Regions from separate parts of the Homo sapiens genome. Here all the other regions are linked to region 3. The links are contacts of gene promoters, found by promoter capture Hi-C in human tissues and cell types (Jung and others, 2019). All regions are on one chromosome and are shown on one strand. The core of a region is centred on a gene start or on the middle of the fragment in contact, and the rest is flanking DNA. Distances in the headings are between cores, read along the strand shown.

What was found. Contacts are between HindIII fragments. The study calls those that stand out against the background at their distance.
Region 1: a contact is called between a fragment that was not itself captured here and the fragment with the promoter of REG3G in region 3, in 2 of the 25 tissues and cell types used here (bladder and ovary).
Region 2: a contact is called between a fragment that was not itself captured here and the fragment with the promoter of REG3G in region 3, in 2 of the 25 tissues and cell types used here (mesenchymal stem cells and ovary).

What each region holds. Positions count from the first base shown.
Region 1 is chr2:79,058,760-79,063,476 of GRCh38, reverse strand. No RefSeq gene overlaps it. Among named protein-coding and RNA genes, the nearest start is that of REG1B, 27 kb to the left of the region's middle. The HindIII fragment of the contact is 4,064 bases long and covers 1-3,927 here.
Region 2 is chr2:79,079,002-79,083,611 of GRCh38, reverse strand. No RefSeq gene overlaps it. Among named protein-coding and RNA genes, the nearest start is that of REG1B, 6.7 kb to the left of the region's middle. The HindIII fragment of the contact is 4,779 bases long and covers 1-3,836 here.
Region 3 is chr2:79,022,692-79,026,952 of GRCh38, reverse strand. It overlaps REG3G (regenerating family member 3 gamma), which reads right to left and starts at 1,251. Exons shown (of 6, transcript NM_001008387.3): 1 at 1,180-1,251; 2 at 784-970; 3 at 122-240. The coding sequence starts at 859. The HindIII fragment of the contact is 5,677 bases long and covers 1-3,648 here.

The DNA of each region.
Region 1 (4,717 bases), core at 646-3,145, 36 kb before region 3:
TGCATGAGGTTTCCATTTTCTAATTTGAACTGTACTTGGCCAGGCCTAAGCCATTCATTTTTTACTTCTAGCTTAAAGTGAAGGTTAGCTCTTGACATTCTTGGATAAATTTATGGAACAAGAGCTCTTTCTGTGCCTATCTGTCTCTGTCTTTTCTTACTTTTTCCTTGTCTCTGTCTCTCTCACCCCCCAACACCCCTCCCCACACACCTTCATATATGGACAAGAAATAATGAATGGGAATAAGGCCATCAAGTCCAACCGTTCATACACAGAAATATCTCTCCATTAAAAAGAAAACAAATTCCAGAGACAAATTTTTGCCCAACATACACTCAGTTTATATGACCAAACTGAACACCAAGTTCCAGTTTAAAACATTTAAATTCAAGTCCAACAATTACTAGCTGCTTTTATCTGCACAGCTAATCCATCCAATTTGGTGCTTTTCCTAGGAAAAAAAAAGAAAAATATTTGCCTCAAAGGTAAATTTGTGTCTGTCCTTTTATTGCACTAGAAAACTACTCTAATAGTTATCCTCTGCTACACAAGAAACTACCCAAAATATAGTGGCTTGAAAGCAACCACATATTATCACAGTTTTTATAGGTCAGAAATCTGGGCATAGCTTAGCTGGGCTCTCAGCATCAGTTTCACACAAGGTGGTGAACAAAGCATCATCCATGGCTGTAGTCTCCGCTGAAGGTTTGGTAGGAGAAAGGTTCAATTTCAAACTCAGTGACATGGTTATTGGAAGGATTCATTTCCTCCTGGGCTGTTGGACTGAGGGCCTCAGCTCCTTGCTGGTTGCTGGCTGAAGGCTTCCCTCAGTTCCTTGTCACATGGCCCCTCCAAGTTTCTCTCCGTATAGGCAGCTCACAATACTTTAGCTTTCTTCATCAGAATGGGTAACTGGGTGAGCAAGAGAGAGTGTCAACAAGAGAGAAAGCAGTAAAAGCAAGGCAGAAATCCTGGCCTTTTATTACCCAATCATGGATGTGGCATCACATCACTTCCGTCATATACTATTGGTGAGAAGCAAGTCATTATGTTTATCTCACATGCAAGGGGATGGGATTAGACAAAGGATGTCAAACCAAGATGCAGAGATTGTTGGAGGCCATCTCAAAGGGTGCTAATCATAGTTACCAAAGACTTGAAACTATATATTTTCTGGTTTTATCAATAAAGTTTAAAAATATTAGAAATAGAGTAATTCCAATTGATTTCTTTAATTATTACCAGAAAGACACCTGACATTATCTGTCTTTACCTGTAACTAACTCCTTGCATTCTACTCCTATTCAGAACAAAACTCTGAGGATCAAGGACTATAAAAGGGTTGGGACAGTCAGCATCCCTTTCAAAGCCAACATTCAGGATTTTTTGTATTATTTCTGGGGTACTAGATATTATAGGTGTGCTGGAGTTGCTGGTTGACTGCATTTTAGGTAGTTTATAATTTTAGAAACTACAGGGGGACAAGATGAAAGGTAAAACGGGATGGGCTTAAAAATGTAGGATGATTTTTGTGTGTGCCAGCTTTCAATGTTATAGGAATTCCCAGCATCAATCTTCACTGCTCTTTTCTAGTACATGGCAATTACTATAGTTAAAATTGCTAGTGAACAAAACTTCTTTTCTCTGTGGTGACTATGACTTATAAATCCTTAGCGTGTTCTCCTATAGAATACTTTCTCTTCTTCCATTCAGCCTCTTCAGTGAATCATTGATAATATTCAGAAGGCAAAAGAAGAGCACTAAGGAAACGAGTGTGTCTCTTTCTCTCTCTCCTCTCAGGATGGTGTATATCCAAGGAAAGATGATTATACTTTCTCTATTTATGCCACATTGGTCCTTGACTTATCCCTCAAAGAAAATTCTTCCTATCCTTCAAATGGAAGAACTTTTCCAACAGCTCTTGAGGAGCAGAATATGAACTTGAGTAAATAAAATATGAACAGCAAGACTATTGTTAAGAAAATTTAATTCACAAGTACTGTCCATGTACTGGCCTAAAGAAGGGAAAATTTTTAGAAGCAGGAAGAGCAGGCTGTTTTGGTTTCCTAATGGGACTGAGCTGGGGAGGGGTTACCTGTGTCTTCAGGAATTCCTATCCCGTTCAAAGCTTTACTAGAGTCAGATCTGTAAGTAATACTTTTCTTAATTTTCCCTCTTCTAAAAAATTTAGGCTAGAATGATACTGCAGCTTCCTCAAGGAGAGAAACACAAATGTTGAGGTAGGAACTTGCCCTTGCCTGGGGTAGGCACCAGCATAGGAAGAATAAGAGATCAAATTTATATTTGAACTGTTCAAGCATTCAAGGTTAAAGAGTTGAGTGTGAAGTGAAAATAAGATGAATCCCAGAGGCTAAGGGGTGCTATAACAGCCAGAAAAATCTGGGGTATGTATTCTAGCTCTGTGATATTAGGCAAGTTATCAAATTTTCTGAGCCTTAGTTTACTCACCCATAAAATGTTATAATATCCCACAGGATTGTTGTTCATTTAAAATGGGATGAGGTATATAAAGCTCAATAACTCATGATCATTATTATTGTTGACTTGTGGATCAGGAGTGACAACATATGATAGCCTCAGGTTTACTACTTCTGTGTGAAGATTACCTTTTATACAGATTTTACTAAATCATTCATCCTCTCAAAATGTACTACATTTTACTAGAAAACTGGCATTGCTTTATGTCAGGGTTTCTCAACAGCAGCATTACTGACATTTTGGACAAAATAAGCATTTGTTGTGGAGTGATATCTTGTGCATCATATTTTGTTTAGCAACAACCTGGGTCTCTACCCACTAGATGCCAATAGCTAGCACAATTTCCCCTGCTCTGCCTCAGTTGTGACATTCAAAAAGCTCTCTAGACATTGCCAGGTGTCCCCAGAGGACAAAATTGCTCTCCATTGATAATCAGTGTTCCAGATTCTAGGGATAGAAAGACAAGTTAAGATGCCTGTAGAAGTCCAGAGGGCTAGGGAAAGGGATGAAACAAAGATCCACAACTGGAAATAAAAATAGGTAATGAAAACCAGGAAAAGAGATGAAATCACTATTTGAGAATGTGTAAGTTAAGAAAAAAATATACACCAATTAAGAATGGAACCCTGATGAATACTACCAATGTAAGACTGCTTGTGTCTCTTTCAAATCCATTATCCCTCTCTTCAATGGTAATCAAGCTTGAAGCTCCATGGCCTTATGACCAAGTTTAGCCACTGGCATTAGATGGGAGGTGATTTGTGTAGCTGTTGGGTCATTTCTAATTTAGAGATAAGCTGATTCACTTTGGAGGACACTTGGTCCTCTCACTGGCTGGAATACAGAGAAGGCTGTGTCCCTGCTTCAGAGAAACAGATGAGAGCAATTAGAGATGGCTCAAAAACAATATGAAAAGAGCCTGAGTCCAAAATCTTATGTGAATGGAAAACAAACTTATATCTTGTTTAATGTTTTGTGTCTGCATTTTGGCACCTCAACTAATACACAAATGTTTAAATATCAGGTAGAAAATAGGTTTTTATGCAAGAATCAGAGACTCAAAAATGTGAAGAGATCCAGAAAAGTGTGGTGTCGTGGAAGTTAGAGAGCCTCAGGAAAGAAAAGGTAATCAACAATACCATAGAGGCAAGTCTGGTTCGATGGGAGGTGGAACGGTAACTTGACAAACGTTGATTCATTGATATCCTTAATGATAGCAAATTCAGAAGAATGCTGAGAGCAGAAGTAAAATTTCAATGTAATGAGTCAAACGGAGATGTGAAATTGGACATGATTCATACAGGTAACACTTTTTCAAAGTTTGAAAGAGAAGGGGAAGAACTAAATGTAAATTATTTGGGGAGGATAATGGATTCAAGGGAGGGTTATTTTCTCAACTTTTAAATTTGAAATAATTATAGATCCGTAGGAACATTCAAAGTAATATGCAAAAGATCCCAGGCAGTATCAAAACCAGAGAAAACAATTTAGTAAAATCCATAAATTTTATTCAGATATTATCCTTTATACATTCACTCAGGTGTGTGTATGTGTATGTGTGGCCCCATGAAATTTTATTAGATGTGTATCTTTGTGTAACCACCACCACAATCACAACACAATATAAAAAAATACAACTGCATAAGACTCTCTCTTGCTATCCCTTTATAGCAAGATATATATCCCTTTATACCCATCCCTTCTTCATCCCCAAACCTTTGCTATCACCAATTTTCTATAGATCCCCATAATTAGATTATTTCATGGAGTTTTTATAGGTGGAATTTGCTATATACATATATTATTAGCTGTTTTTGCTTGCATAATTTCCTTTGAGCTTCATTCAAATTACTGTGTCCATTCATAGTGTGTTGCTTTTTTATTGCTGGATAGTATGGCTGGACCACAGTTTGTTTAATCATCCACCCAGTGAAAGACATTTGGGTAGTTTCCAGTTTGGGACTCTTGTAATTAAATCCTCATAAATAATTATGTGTAAAAATTACTTATTTACTATAAATAACATATTTAACATCAATTTAAAATAAAATCTCTCAGCACATGAGGACTAGAAGATACCTCTTTAACCTGATGAAGTTTACCTATGAAAAACCTAAAGCTGTGCATCATGCTTAAATGATAAAAGACTGAAAGCTTTTCCATTGGGATTAGGACAGACAAGAATATCTCTTTTGGTACCCTTTTTAACTGTTTTGTA
Region 2 (4,610 bases), core at 198-2,697, 56 kb before region 3:
AGCAAAAATGTTACTTGAGAAGAAAAGGAGTATTTTATAATAATAAAGTAGTTAATTCTTCAGGAAGATGTCTCAAAATACCTGAAACAGGTGGAACCCACTGCAGTGTGACAAAGCCGCTATAACCAGACTGCCCCTCCGGATTCCTCCTCTCTGGGGAGGACATCTCTGAAAGAAAGGCAGCAGCCTCAGTCAGGGGCTTATAGATAAACTCCCATCTCCCTGGGACAGAGCACCTGGGGGAAGGGGCAGCTGTGGGCCAAGCTTCAGCAGACTTAACCTTTCCTGTCTGCTGGCTCTGAAGAGAGCAGCGGGTCTCCTCGCACAGCACGCAAGCTCTGCTAAAGGACAGATTGCCTTCTCAAGTGGGTCCCTTACTCCAGTGCCTGATGACTGGGAGATACCTCCCAGCAGGAGTTGACAGACACCTCATACAGGAGAGCTCCAGCTGGCATCTGGCCAGTGCCTCTCTGGGACAAAGATTCCAGAGGAAGAAGCAGGCAGCAATATTTGCTGTTCTGCAGCCTCCGCTGGTGAGACACAGGCAAACAGGGTCCGGAGTGGACCTCCAACAAACTCCAGCAGACCTGCAGAAGAGGGGCCTGACTCTTAGAAGGAAAACTAACAAACAGAAAGCAATAGCATCAATATCAACTAAAAGGACACCCAGGAAAATCACCATCCGAAGGTCACCAACATTAAAGACCAAAGATAGATAAATCCATGAAGATGAGAAAAAAACAAGCGCAAAAAGGATGAAAATTCCAAAAACCAGAAAGCCTCTTCTCCTCCAAAGGATCACAACTCCTCATCAGCAAGGAAACAAAACTGGATAGACAATGAGTTTGATGAATTGACAGAAGTAGGCTTCAGAAGGTGGGTAATAACAAACCCCTCTGAGCTGAAAGAGCATGTTCTAACCCAATGCAAGAAAGCTAAGAATCTTGATAAAAGGTTACAGGAACTGGTAACTAGAATAACTAGTTAGAGAAGAACATAAATGATCTGATGGAGCTGAAAAACACAGCACGAGAACTTCATGAAGCGTACGCAAGTATCAATAGCTGAATCAATCAAGCAGAAGAAAGGATATCAGAGATTGAAGATCAACTTAATGAAGTCAAGAGTGAAGACAAGATTAGAGAACAAAGAATGAAAAGGAAAGAACAAAGCCCCCAAGAAATATGGGACTATGTGAAAAGACCAAACCTACGTTTGATTGGTGTACCTGAAAGTGACAGGGAGAATGGATCCAAATTGGAAAACATACTTCAGGATATTATCCAGGAGAACTGCCCCAGCCTAGTAAGAGAGGCCAACATTCAAATTCAGGAAATACAGAGAAGACGGCAAAGATACTCCTTGAGAAAAGCAGCCCCAAGACACATAATTGTTGGATTCATCAAGGTTGAAATGAAGGAAAAAATGTTAAGGGCAGCCAGAAAGAAAGGCCAGGTTACCCACAAAGGGACACCAATCAGACTAACAGAGGATCTCTCTGCAGAAATCCTGTGAGCCAGAAGACAGTGGGGGCCAGTATGCAACTTTCTTAAAGAAAAGAATTTTCAACCCAGAATTTCATATCCAGTCAAACTAAGCTTCATAAGCAAAGGAGAAATAAAGTCCTTTACAGACAAGCAAATGCTGAGGGATTTTGTCACCACCAGGCCTGCCTTACAAGAGCTCCTGAAGGAAGCACTAAATATGAAAAGGAAAACTGGTACCAGCCACTGCGAAAACATACCAAAATGTAAAGACAATCGACACTATGAAGAAACCACATCAACTAATGGGCAAAATAACCAGCTAGCATCATAATGACTGGATCAAATTCACACATAACAATGTTAGCTTTAAATGAAAATGGGCTAAATGCCCCAATTAAAAGACACAGACTGGCAAACTGGATAGAGTCAAGACCCATCTGTGTGCTGTATTCAGGAGACCCATCTCATGTGCAAAGACACACACAGGCTCAAAATGAAGGGATGGAGGAATACTTACCAAGCAAATGGAAAGCCCAAAATAAAAAAAAAAAAGCAGGGGTTGCAATTCTCATCTCTGATAAAACAGACTCTAAACCAACAAAGATAAAAAAAGACAAAGAAGAGCATTACATAATGGTAAAGGGATCAATGCGCCAAGAAGAGCTAACTATCCTAAATATATATGCACCCAATACAGGAGCACCCAGATTCATTGAGCAAGTTCTTAGAGACCTACAAAGAGACTTAGACTCCCACACAATAATAGTGGGAGATTTCAACACCCCACTGTCAATATCAGACAGATCAACGAGACAGAATATTAACAAGGATATTCAGGACTTGAACTCAGCTCTGGACCAAGTGGACCTAATAGACATCTAGAGAACTCTCCACCCCAAATCAACAGAATATACATTCTTCTCAGCACCACATCACACTTATTCTAAAATTGACCACATAATTGGAAGGAAAACACTGCTCAGCAAATGCAAAAGAATGGAAATCATAAGAGCCTCTCAGACCACAGTGCAATCAAATTAGAACTCATGATTAAGAAACTCACTCAAAACTGCACAACTGCATGGAAACTGAACAACCTGATCCTGAATGACTACTGGGTATATAATGAAACTAAGGCAGAAATAAATAAGTTCTTTGAAACCAATGAGAAGAAAGACACAATGTATCAGAATCTCTGGGACACAGCTAAAGCAATGTTTACAGAAAAATTTACAGCACTAAATGCCAACAGGAGAAAGCGAGAAAGATCTAAAATTGACACCCTAGCATCACAATTAAAAGCACTAGAGAAGCACGAGCAAACAAATTCAAAAGCTAGCAGAAGACAAGAAATAACTGAGATCAGAGCAGAACTGAAGGAGATAGAGACACAAAAATCCCTTCAAAAAATCAATGAATCCAGCTGGTTTTTTTGAAAAGATTAACAAAATCGATAGACCTCTAGCCAGACTAGTAAAGAAGAAAAGAGAGAAGAATCAAATAGACACAATAAAAAATGATAAAGAGGAGATCACCACTGATCCCACAGAAATACAAACTACCATCAGAGAATATTACAAACACCTCCACACAAATAAACTAGAAAATCTAGAAGAAATGGATAAATTCCTGGACATATACACCCTTCCAAGACTAAACCAAAAAGAAGTCAAATCCCTGAATAGACCAATAACAAATTCTGAAATTGAGGCAGTAATTAATAGCCTACCAACCAAAAAAAATCCCAGGACCAGATGGATTCATAGCTGAATTCTACCAGAGGTATAAAGAGGAGCTGATACCATTCCTTCTGAAATTATTCCAAACAATAGAAAAAGAGAGGCTACTCTCTAACTCATTTTATGAGTCCAGCCTCATCCTGATACCAAAACCTGGCAGAGACACAACAAAATGAAGAAAATTTCAGGCCAATATCCCTAATGAACATCGATGCAAAAATCTTCAATAAAATACTGGCAAACTGAATCCAACAGCACATCAAAAAGCTTATCCACCATGATCAAGTCAGCTTCATCCCTGGGATGCAAGCTTGGTTCAATATACACAGATCAATAAATGTAATCCAACACATAAACAGAATCAATGACAAAAACCACATGACTATCTCAATGGATGCAGAAAAAGCCTTTGATAAAATTCAGCACCACTTAATGCTAAAAGCACTCAATAAACTAGGTATTGATGAACTACATCTCAAAATAGTAAGAGCTATTTATGACAAACCCACAGCCAATATCATGCTGAATGAGCAAAACTGGAAGCATTCCTTTTGAAAACCAGCACAAGACAAGGATGCCCTCTCTCACCACTCCTATTCAACATAGTGTTGGAAGTTCTGGCCAGGGCAATCAGGCAAGAGAAAGAAATAAAGCGTATTAAAATAGGAAAAGAGGAAGTCAAATTGTCTCTATTTGCAGGTGACATGATTGCATATTTAGAAAACCCCATCATCTCAGCCCAAAAACTCCTTAAGGTGATAAGCAATTTCAGCAAAGTCTCAGGATACAAAATCAATGTGCAAAAATCACAAACATTTCTATACACCAATAATAGACAAACAGAGAGCCAAATCATGAGTGAACTCTCATTCACAATTGCTACAAAGAGAATAAAATACCTAGGATAAAGCTTACAAGGTATGTGAAGGACATTTTCAAGGAGAACTACAAACCACTGCTCAACGAAATAAGAGAGGACAAAAACAAATGGAAAAACATTCCATGCTCATGGATAGGAAGAATCAATATCGTGAAAATGGCCATAACGCCCAAAGTAATTTATAGATTCAATGCTATTCCCACTAAGCTTCCTTTGACTTTCTTCAAAGAATTAGAAAAAACTACTTTAAATTTCATATGGAACAACAACAACAACAAAAAGCCTGTATAGCCAAGACAATCCTAAGTAAAAAGAACAAAGCTGGAGGCATCAGACTACCTGACTTCAAACTATACTACAAGGTTACAGTAACAAAAATAACATGGTATTGGTACCAAAACAGATATATAGACTAATGGAACAGAACAGAGGCCTCAGAAATAAACCTGCATGTCTACAACCATCTGATCTTTGATAAACCTGACAAAAACAAGCAATGTGGAA
Region 3 (4,261 bases), core at 2-2,501:
GTGTGAAAGATAAGCGTGTTCATCCTCATTCCCAAGGAACTCTCCTGAAGGAGACCCTCCTCCCCCTGAGACCTGCATGGACTTTCCCCTATCACCTCCAACCCCACATCTAACCACTCACATCTGCATCCATCCAGGATTTTGGTGACAAAAACAAGGCATAGCAGGGGGAGCCATAGGCCTTGGAGCCTTTGGGACAGCTGATCCGTGGAGAGGGCAGTTCCTTCTGGGTTTCTTCACCTGGGGTGGAAGAAAAGGGAGAGAGTAAAATGAAGAGTAGGGGGTGGGTGGGAGATGACCTTGGGGAATATCTAGGTCTGCCCTTGGGGAGGAAGACCACATTCCTGACAGCTCTTCATCTTCCCTTGTGTTTTCAGAAGTTCTTTATCTCAAAATAGCCCTACTAAATGGGCCACCATCTAGTCTGTTATTACCCTTTCCCCTTATTCAACCATTCAACACTCTCTTCACTGTGGGCTATCTCTATATTGGGTCCTCCAATCATTGTCCCTCCCCACATCTCATTGCTGACCCTCCACACTTTCCCACCAGTGTATATTAGAGTCCACTGACTAAATGGAAGCCATCTCATTCCATTGTTAGTGGACCACAGTGGAGCCTCCCACTGCAAGTTAACATGAAGGAAGGAGTGATGATGCAGGAACTGCAGGCAGTTTCATTAGACACCACGTCATTACCTCACGTGACACACAGGAGCCTTCCTCCTTTTCTTGGCTCTGAGGATTCATAGGGAACCCAGTGCTAGAGGCAGAGAAATCTCACCTTGAACCTGACACAGGAGAATGAGGCAGGAAAGCAGCATCCAGGACACACTGGGCAGGGCCATGGGAGGCAGCATAGTGTCTGCGACTTGAGGAGGCAATCGGGTCACTAAAGGAAGTGTGGTCAGCGGGAGGACACACAGATATCCTACTGCCTCTTGTCTTTTTCCTTCTGTAGTCCCCTAGGACTGAAGTGATCTTGGTCACATTCATCATCTTCTACAGTTCTGAATGAGCTGTGAATCTGTGTACTCACCCATCCCTGAGACCTCCCAGTACAGCCTTGCTGAGTCTCAGAGCTCCTGTGCTCCCTGAGGAAGGGACCCTCCCATGCGTTCTCCTGTATTATGTGAGGTTGCCCTTCCACAGGTCTCATCTTCTCTCAGCTCCCACTTACCTCTCTGGTGAGATCTGGTATGCTTTGTCTGGTCAGCAAAGACTGGGTTTTTTATAAAAAGATCTCAGGGATGGTCACTGGAGTGAATAACGGCAATATGTAGGCGGGACAGGGGTCATGGAGAGGGCTTGGCATTGGTTCAAAAAGATTATGCCAAGGGGAGGAGACTCTTCCTGGCAAAGGCTGGGAATTGTTACAGATGTTGCCTTTTTCTCTGTAGCAGGCCGGCACTTTCCCCACAAACAGTTGAAGTTTGCACTTTTCCCACCCTCTTCCAGATATCTTCTTCTGAGAAACTTAAGGGAATAAAGGCAGTCTTGTGAGCCTGGTATTATATAGTTTAGAAAATATTATGATATTACATAGTTATGAGAAATGTCAAAAGTTTGTTTTTGATCAACGTGCCAGGAGCTCACTTCTATAGGCATACATATGAATTCCTTTATACCTTATCTAGTAACATTTAAAATAAATTAATAAATAAAAATTGGGTGGGCATTAAAATTAGATGTGTTGGCAAAGACAATGTATTAGTCGAAATAAAGAAACAATAGAAACCAGAAGCAGCAGCACTGGTTCAGTGTTGCTACTTCAACTTCACAGCAAGATGTAAAAGAAGCTTGAAATAATCTTGTGAGTCATTAGGCAAGCCAGGGTCTTATGGAACAGCAGTTAAATAGATTTGCCTTCCAGCTACCTTTGTGTGAGAAGACCAAGAGATAGTTCCTTGGTTTATTGTAGTTCTGCGCTGACAGTTTGATATCTCAGAGTAGCGTTCTTAGATTGTGATCTACACACCAATGGGGGTCTTCAGGGCCTGTTTGGAGTGGTTGTGCAGTTATAATTTTCATAATTATACTAAAGTGTTATTCGTCATTTTCGCTATGTTGACATTTGCACTGATGAGGCAAAATAAATGGTGGATAGAAGTTCTGGTGCCTTAACATCAATCAAGGCAGTGGCACCAAATTGCATTGCTCATATCCACGCACTTGCAAGAAACAAAATAAAGCCATTTTTACTTGAAAATGCCCTTGAACTTGATGAATCAGGGTAGTGAATTGGCTTCAGTAAATCTCAACCCTTGAATACATCTAGAGGGAATATTCTGTATGACTAAATGGGAAGCTGACATGCTAAAGTATAATGGTTGTCTTGAGGGAAATAATTTGTAACACTGAGTTTTAGTTCACTATTTCATGGAACACCATTTTTACTTGAAAAATAAACCAAGACAAACTTCACTTACTGACATATGGGTCTTTTGTTAACATGTTTTCAAAAAAGTTCAAAGTGAGTTAGTAAATGAATATTTTTAACTTTTCTCTTTTACTATATATTATTATAAATATCAATAGCTCACATGAACAAAATTTTTTTTCGAGTGTCCTCAATATTTTTTAAGAGTGTTAAAGGGTCCTGAGATCAAAACAGTTTGAGATCTCTGGTTAACATCTAGCTGGCAATTTCCAGAAAATATAGGACATGGGGATGGTATTATATTACAACACAGGAATACCATCAGCAAAATTTAGAAGGTGGGAAATTCTACAGGACAAATAAGTACATTTCCCCAGCAAGTGAATTTAAGGAAATAAAACAACATCTCACTCTTAACATGTGAAAAATATATCAATCAAATAAAATGTGTGAACCATGTTTGGATCTTGATTTGAACAAATTAAATAAAAAATATAATTATAAAACAATTGGGTAAAAGTGAGCATTTGATAATGTTAAAGGACTATATCATGTTCAGATGTAATTATAATATTGAAATAATATTATTTAAAGTATCCTTATCATTTAAGATACATAACACAATATTTACAGATGAAATGGTTATTCAGAATTTACTTCAAAATAATCAAGCATGATAGAGATAAAGAAAGAGAGAGACAGATAAAACAAGAGAGGACTTGAGGTCATGAGAGTTGTTGCTTGGTGGTAGGTACATAATGATTCATAACACTATTGTCTTTGGGTTTTTATCTAAAATATTGGTGGAAAATTTTGAGAAAAAGAAAAATTCAGGGCCATCGTGAGAAAGAAATTTGAAGGACAATCTGACTCAAGAACACAGATGCAAAGTTCCTGAACAAAACACAAAACAAATTGAATTCATTGTTTTATATAATAAATGAAGAGAAAGAAGAGTTAATCTTGGAAATGTAATGATAGTTTATTATGATGAACTATTAATGCAATTTCCAAGTTCAGAAGTTAAAAGGGAAAAAAATATATAGTCATTTTAAAAGAACAAAATTGTTAAGTGAAATTCAAAACCTATTAGTAACTGATAAAAAGTCTTAAAAACCAGAGTTAGACAGGAATAGCTTTAACACAGTAAAGAAATCTATAGAGACTCAAAAGTAAACTACTGACAAGACTTCCTTAAAAAATCAGAAATATACAAATGTACCACCCTCATTGATTCTATTTAACAATATCGTGTGATAGAAAGTACACTTAGAAAAGAAAAAAAAATTTAAACAGGGAAAAAGTAAATTAAGTTGTCACTATTTGCATATGACATGCTGTCTCCATAGAAAACCCAGAAGACTCTTCAAATTAGTTGTTAGAATTAATGGATAAATTTAGTAAACAAGAAGAATGTGAGATCAACATATAAATCCCAAATGAACATTTGTATTCCAACAATAGAGTTAGAAAGGGTATTTTTAAGAAAGATACTGTTTTTAATAGGAAGAAAAATATAAAGGATCTAGAAATATATCCGACAAAAATAGTCAAGACCATGTAAAACTTTTTAAACTTTAAAGAAGACTTTAATATACGAAGAAATATATCATGTTTTAGAGAGACAGATTCAATATCCTGAAGAGGTTACTTTTCCCTACACAGATGGTCTGTGATTTATGATAGTTCTACTTATAATTTTTCTACCGTATCATGGTGGGAAAGTGATATGCATTCCCTAGAAGGCTTATATCAGATTTTGAATACTGGTCTTTTACTGGGCTAGCAGTATGCAGTACGGTACTCTCTCATGTTGCCTCAGCATAGGCAGCAAGCACTGCCCTGGTGGCAATACCATCTTGAAAGTAAACAGCTGATACTC